Regions from separate parts of the Homo sapiens genome. Here region 1 is linked to region 2. Evidence: promoter capture Hi-C in 16 types of primary human blood cells and fetal thymus (Javierre and others, 2016). All regions are on one chromosome and are shown on one strand. The core of a region is centred on a gene start or on the middle of the fragment in contact, and the rest is flanking DNA. Distances in the headings are between cores, read along the strand shown. Region 1 has its middle 41 kb from the start of AKR1C3. Region 2 holds the start of UCN3 (urocortin 3).

Region 1 (3,228 bases), core at 523-3,022, 230 kb before region 2:
TTGAAAGGTACATTTTTTAAACAACAAAGCCATGAATAGAACAATTTTCTATTTTAATATGAGTATTTCAGAAGCTTTCTATTTTCAATGATATTAAAAGGAACTAGATGCCAGGTCTCACTGCCTTCCCCTGATACCAGCCCTGATCTTCTCTTTGCTGTGGAGGCACTCAAGGTTTACCAAGGCTAAAGCTTCCATGTTGTGCTTTTCCTTACTTCCCCCTCATGCCAATTTTCATTACAAAGTAAACCGCTAGTGTTGATGGTCTTCAAGATGTCTCTCTGTAAATTCTTACAATGTACAGTTGAGAAAAGTGAGACAAATTTTATATGACTAGTCCTTATTCAAGCACTTAGTAGCCTTGGAATACACGTTTTCTTCCAGTATAGAAATAGTTCAGTCTAGAAAATAAAGTCTCCATTTTGCCTACTTTCATGTCAGGGGACCATCCATACCATTTTGATACAAATCTGATGCATATTAACATGGACCAAAAATCTAAAATTTCTCCTTCGAGGTTCTAGTTTTTTCTTAAAGTTATTTTTCCTTTTAATTTTCCTAGAGGTGAAAGTTGTACATGGGAACTTGTATTAAGTCCAAGACCAGTATTATTACTCTGTCATGCTCAAGGCCACACAGCAGCTCAGCAATACTCTCCCTAAGAGTTTTCATACACCCCGTCTCCAGACACTGTTACCACAAAGATTTTGTTCGATCATGTATACTTGGAAGAACAAACAATTTCTTCAATTATAGAAAGAAACGGAGAAACCATTCCACTGCAGTCAATCACCTACAAAAGGAAATGCCAGGCAGCGTTCTTCACTCTTGAGTTTTAAATATTCTGCAAAGCTGGGAACACCCATAAACAGAAGAAAAAAACAGTGCACAAAATAAAAGTAAGCAGTACACGACCATATGACCAGACCCCAATGCAGAACAAAGATTGACTACCTTTTCTCTTTGAACATGGAATAGCTCTGGCCTATTAAAACAGACCAGGTGAGTCACGCAGAGTAACACAGGAACACAAAGCTAAAACCCAAGTCATCTACTTATTCTAGCTTTGCTCTTTTAAATGCCCAACACTGAAAATATGATTATGTTACCTCTGGAGGTACACAGGTGCCAAATCCTAATACAGGCATGAAATGACCATCATTTAGCTCCACACACTGATATTTGGGATCCATTGAATGTCATTCCTTTCGCTAAGCAGACACGGTTTCCTTCTTCAACATCCAGCATTTATATTCACAGGTTGTATAAACAATGGGCAGGCAATGCTACACTGCCCACTGTCTGGGGCTGACCAATGTCATGTAGGAAGAGGCAAGTGATGGTGTATTACACAGGCTATGAAGAAAATTGAATCCAGTGCACTTGTTTTTTATCAAAGAGAATTCTTAAGTACATTTTAATATAGTCAGAATAAAATTATTATTTTCTTACTAAAGTAAAATTTTCCATCTGGAATCTATCTATCTATCTATCTATCTGGCTATCTATTATCTATCTATCTATCATCTATCATCTATCTATCTATCATCTATCATCTGTCTATCTCATAAATTCCTCCAATAGATTTATAGAATGATTAATTATCATATGTTGGACTATAAAACAACTCCAGCAACAAGTCTCGTTTTTGTTCATGCCGTGATGATGTTTCATCTTTATTTTATGTCATATAAATGATCAATCATTGTACATCTTTCTCTCACATGATGCTAAAGGAATGACTAGTAAGCATTTTTTAACAGGTGACAATAAAAAAGTTAAACATTAAAACCAAAGAAAATTTCTCCTTTTACCTTTCCATCAGCAAATATTTTGGGTTTTTTTTCTTTGCATTGTAGAAGGAATATTCATTCCTGATGAAAATGCAGTCCTGATGATGTTGTAATCCTGACAAGGGTTCAAAGGAAAAAGAAAATGCAGAAATTATGACATGATGTTTATTGGAGTATTAATTAACAATGTCTGGTCTTTGGACATCATTTGTAATATGGAAACAGTGCCTTATAGTATTTGTATCTTTCACATAGTTTTATAAGAAACTATCAAAGGTAATGTTCCAAAAAACTGGTAACTATTTTACATAATTTGTGATCCTGTTAAATGTTATTCATAAAACTGGAATCTAATTACAATAAATTGGTGAATAATCCTCACATGCCTTAATTTTTACTTGTGTCTCTCTTTGGAGGGCAAATTTGAATGTAATGATTGGGCCAGACACGTTGGCTCACACCCGTAATCCCAGCACTTTGGGAGGCTGAGGTAGGTGGATCACTTGAGATCCAGTGTTCAAGACCAGCCTGGCGAATATGACGAAACCTCGTCTCTACCAAAAATACAAAAATTAGCCACGTGTGGTGGCAAATGCCTATAATTCCAGCTACTCAAGAGGCTGAGGCAGGAGATAAGTTCAACCTGGGAGGCAGAGGCTACAGTGAGCCAAGGTCATACCACTGTATTCCAGTTTGCATGATCCATGATTAACATCCCTGATGAATCCACACCAATATCTGTTGTTTTTTGACATTTTAAGAATAGTCATTCTCACTTGTGTAAAATGATATCTTAATGTGCTTTGCTATGTGTTTCATAAGTGTACATTAAATGTAAATGGCTTAAATTTCCACATCAAAAGGACAATTTGCAGAATGGGTTTTAAAAAATCCAGGATGCAACTATATGTTCTGAATCAGAAACTTCCTTTAGAGGAGGACATAAATAGTGTGAACATGAAGGACAACAATAAGTATTTTAAGAAAATAGTAACCAAAGAAAAGGTGTGATAGCTGTACTAGAATCAGACGAAATAACATTTAGTCAAAAATTCTGACAAGAGATAAACAAGATATAAAACACAGGCATATTTTATAGCTATTAAAAGTCACATTCCAGACCACCAACATAAAGCAAATACCACAATAAAATGAATCACATAAATTTTTAAATTTCAACTGTATGTAAAAATTATGTTTACACTATTTTATATTAGGTAAGCAATAGTATCTGTCTAAGGAAACAATATACATATCTTAATTTAAACATTTTTTGTTACAAAATGCTAACAATTTTCTGAACCTTCAGCAGGATGTAATCTTTTGGCTGCTAGAAACTATTCCCTCACTGGGAGTCCATTCCAAGATGGCTGAATATGAACAGCTCCCATCTGCAGCTCCCAGCGTGATTGATGCAGAAGACAGAGGCCAGCAT
Region 2 (3,303 bases), core at 279-2,778:
GGAGCACTGAGCCCAGCGTCAGGCCTGGTTCTCACCTGACTCTGTCACCCTGGGCCTGTGGGGTCCCAGCAGGTCACTTTTTACAGCCTCAGCTTCCTCATCTGTGAATAAGGGGTCAACAGACCGTAGTCTCCCACATCTCCCCATTACATATGGAATAAACTCCCAACTCCGCAGGCCTTTGGAGCACCTTAGTGCAGAGCAGCCTCTGCACCCACCAACACCTCCCTCCCATCGTCCTCCTTCTCTCCCGTTCCTCTCAGCCCTGGCTCAGTCCATGCTGATCCATCCTTTCTGTCTGAAACCCCTCCTGCTCTCCTCTCCTGTCTTGAGTAGACAGGACTGCTCTCTTCTGTAGCATTTTTTACCTACCTTTCTTTCTTTCTTTCTTTTGAGATGGAGTCTCACTCTGTTGCCCAGGCTGGAGTGCAATGGCGCCATCTCAGCTCACTGCAACCCCCACCTCCCAGGTTCAAGTGATTCTCTTGCCTTGGCCTCCTGAGTAGTTGGAATTACAGGCACTCGCCACCATGCCCGGCTAATTTTTTTTGTATTCTTAGTAGAGCCGGGGTTTCACCATGTTGGCCAGGCTAGTCTTGAACTCCTGACCTCGTGATCTGCCCGCCTCGGCCTCCCACAGTGCTGGGATTACTGGCATAAGCCACCGCACCCAGCCTTCCCTACCTTTCTAAACCATGAGGCCCTGTATGGTTAGGGGCCACAACTTACTTATCTCTGAACTCGTGGGTGTCTTGGCAATACCTGGTACACAGTAAGTCCTCAATAAATATAGGATGCATAAACGAGTAAAATCCAAGCCATTTCCCACTAAAACCTCCAGACCTCTGGTGTATGATGACCTGCTGTCATAGCCCAAAGGAATGGTTGAGTTTCAGGTATCCAGAGAAAAATGCAGGTGTAGAGCTTTCCCCTCAAACGTATTAACAAATAGATGGTGCTCAGTCATTTTCGCGGCAGGCTGCAGAGAAATCTTAAACTTTCGTGTTGTTTCACTGAGGGTACGGCAGAAGAGCCCAAGGAATGTGAAAGGAGAAACTTGCATAATTAGACTTTATGTGGGGAGTAGGCACCGAGTGTGTGACAAGCACAAGGGGCTACGTGTGCGGCCAGATGACGCTGCACGGTCAGAACCCACAAAACAACACGGCAACAGGTGGATTTTAAACCCCTTCTCTGCTTTCAAAGCAGGTCCAGGCTCTACATTTACAGAAGGAGAGTTAGGGCAAGGGGAATGTGGGGGAAACTGAAATTAGTTAGAACTAAGATCAGCAATAAAATTCTTCAAAGACACTGCTTCTCACTTTACCAGGATTTTTGTTTTGTTTTGTTTTGAGTTTTTATTTCTTCTTTTTCTTTTTTGTTCTTTGCTTTTATCAATGAAGCAAGTTGCTAGGATGCAAAAGGAGTTGGGGGGTAGAAGGGCGGGGTGGGAAGCAGAGGTGGGAGGGGTCGAGGTTGGAGCACCTGTCGTCTGCATGACGTGGACGGCTGGTTCTGGTTGTATTTTAAATGAAATCTCATCCCAGCGTAGACACCACGTCTGGAATTACGATCCACCCTGTGATCTGTCACTTTTATATACACACAGGGGAGGGGACCGTTTCCATAGAGAGGGAATATCACAGCCCACTTAGGAACAATACCGGAGAAGCAGGAGCCGAGACCCCGGAGCAGCCACAAGTTCATGGGGACGTGCACGGGGCCGCCCTCCTGGCCCTGAAGCTGCGCCGGCCTCCCTGAGCGTTTCGCTGCGGAGGGAAGTCCACTCTCGGGTAAGCTTGTGGCTGGGACTGACTTATGAAGGGTAAATGTATCTGCCCTAATTTAAGCAGGAGGTGCCATGCACTAGACAGGTGTGAGAGATGAGAGCTGCTAGCGCCCCTGGGTGGAAGCCCAAGGGAGCGATGCTGAACGCCCCCCACCCAATCAGCAGAAATCAGCCCCAAAGGGACCAGGGGAAGTTTCTCAGGGAGGCACAATCACATTCCCACGTTGGTATAGAGAGACCCTCTTTCCAAAGGTGTTAGATCAGAGGCAGAAGGTGTTCACACAAATCTGTTTTCTCTGAACAGAGCACAGCTGTGCACAGGAAAGTCAGTCCTCGGAGACAGTTTACAAATGGGGATGGGGTAGGGATGCCGGGGCTAATGGGAGCCACAGGACATGACTCCACGCCGCCTGCAAAGCAGCGAGGACACCTGCACTTACTGTTTACCTGTGCCACAAACCTTCACCTGTGCCATCTCCCGTCACTCTCGGGCACACCTGTGAAGCAGGTAACGTCTCCTTCCTAGGACGCGGCAAGTGAAATGCAGGTTAAGGGATTCACCCAAGAAAAGTCAGAGGCAAGGGAGTTTCCCCAGCCAGGTCCTCTGCCACCAAAGCCCAGAGCCCTTTGCCACACTAGGAACATTGCGGGGGTGTGTGCAGATACCTACAATGGCTAACTCCTACCTGTGAAGGGGAGATGGATGTTTGATGTTTATGTTTTCTGAAAATTCCTGTTCGCAATTTCTTTCCCAAGCATAGCCACCTACCAAAAATAACAAATGTGAGATTTTTAAAACGTTTTAAGTGGTCTAGTTTCAGTTTAACTTCTTATCAGTGTTTGCAGACAAACGGAGCCCACAGGAATAGCTCTGCACTTGGCAGAGATGTGTGATCAGTACTGTTTGCCTCCTGCCTTTGCTGCTTCATGTCCTGTCCTCTCCCTGTGAGGTGCTGGGAATTGGAGGCTGACCCAGGTCCCTCACGTTTCAGTGCTTGGCTCTGCCACAGCTCCCAGAAGTAACTGTGTCTCTTTACAGCATCCTCGACAAGTGCTACTGTCACCATAGCCCAAAGGAATGGTTGAGTTTCAGGCACCCAGAGAAAAATACAGGTGTAGAGCTTTGCCCCTCAAATGTATTAATAACTAGATGGTGCCCAGTTATTTTCGTGGCAGACTGCAGAGAAATCTTAAACTTTTGTGCTGTTTCACCAAGAATATGGCAGAAGAGTCCAAGGAATGTAAAAGGAGAAACTTGCAAAATTAGACTTTATGTGGGAAGTACAGAGTATCTTTTCTTCTTTGGGGAGAGTTCCTTTTCTTTTATCCTATAAACCCTAAACAAATCTAAACAGATCCTAAAAAGAAAAGTCCTGGAAAGAAATCTGAATCTACCTTCCAGCCCCCAGCCACTCACACACTTTGATGGTGAAACCATCCAGGGTTGCAAAGAACCCTTACATTTTAAACGATCTAAAACTAAGCTCAGCACCGGGCGTCCCTATCATGTCCAA

What was found. Contacts are between HindIII fragments. The CHiCAGO score rates a contact against its expected background, and 5 or more counts as called.
Region 1: a contact is called between a fragment that was not itself captured here and the fragment with the promoter of UCN3 in region 2, in 2 of 17 cell types (M0 macrophages and endothelial precursors). The highest score is 5.2, in M0 macrophages.

The regions. Positions count from the first base shown.
Region 1 is chr10:5,134,034-5,137,261 of GRCh38, forward strand. It overlaps a transcript of AKR1C8 not described here. Among named protein-coding and RNA genes, the nearest start is that of AKR1C3, 41 kb to the left of the region's middle. The HindIII fragment of the contact is 3,166 bases long and covers 190-3,228 here.
Region 2 is chr10:5,363,438-5,366,740 of GRCh38, forward strand. It overlaps UCN3 (urocortin 3), which reads left to right and starts at 1,529. Exons shown (of 2, transcript NM_053049.4): 1 at 1,529-1,793. The HindIII fragment of the contact is 8,098 bases long and covers 1-1,796 here.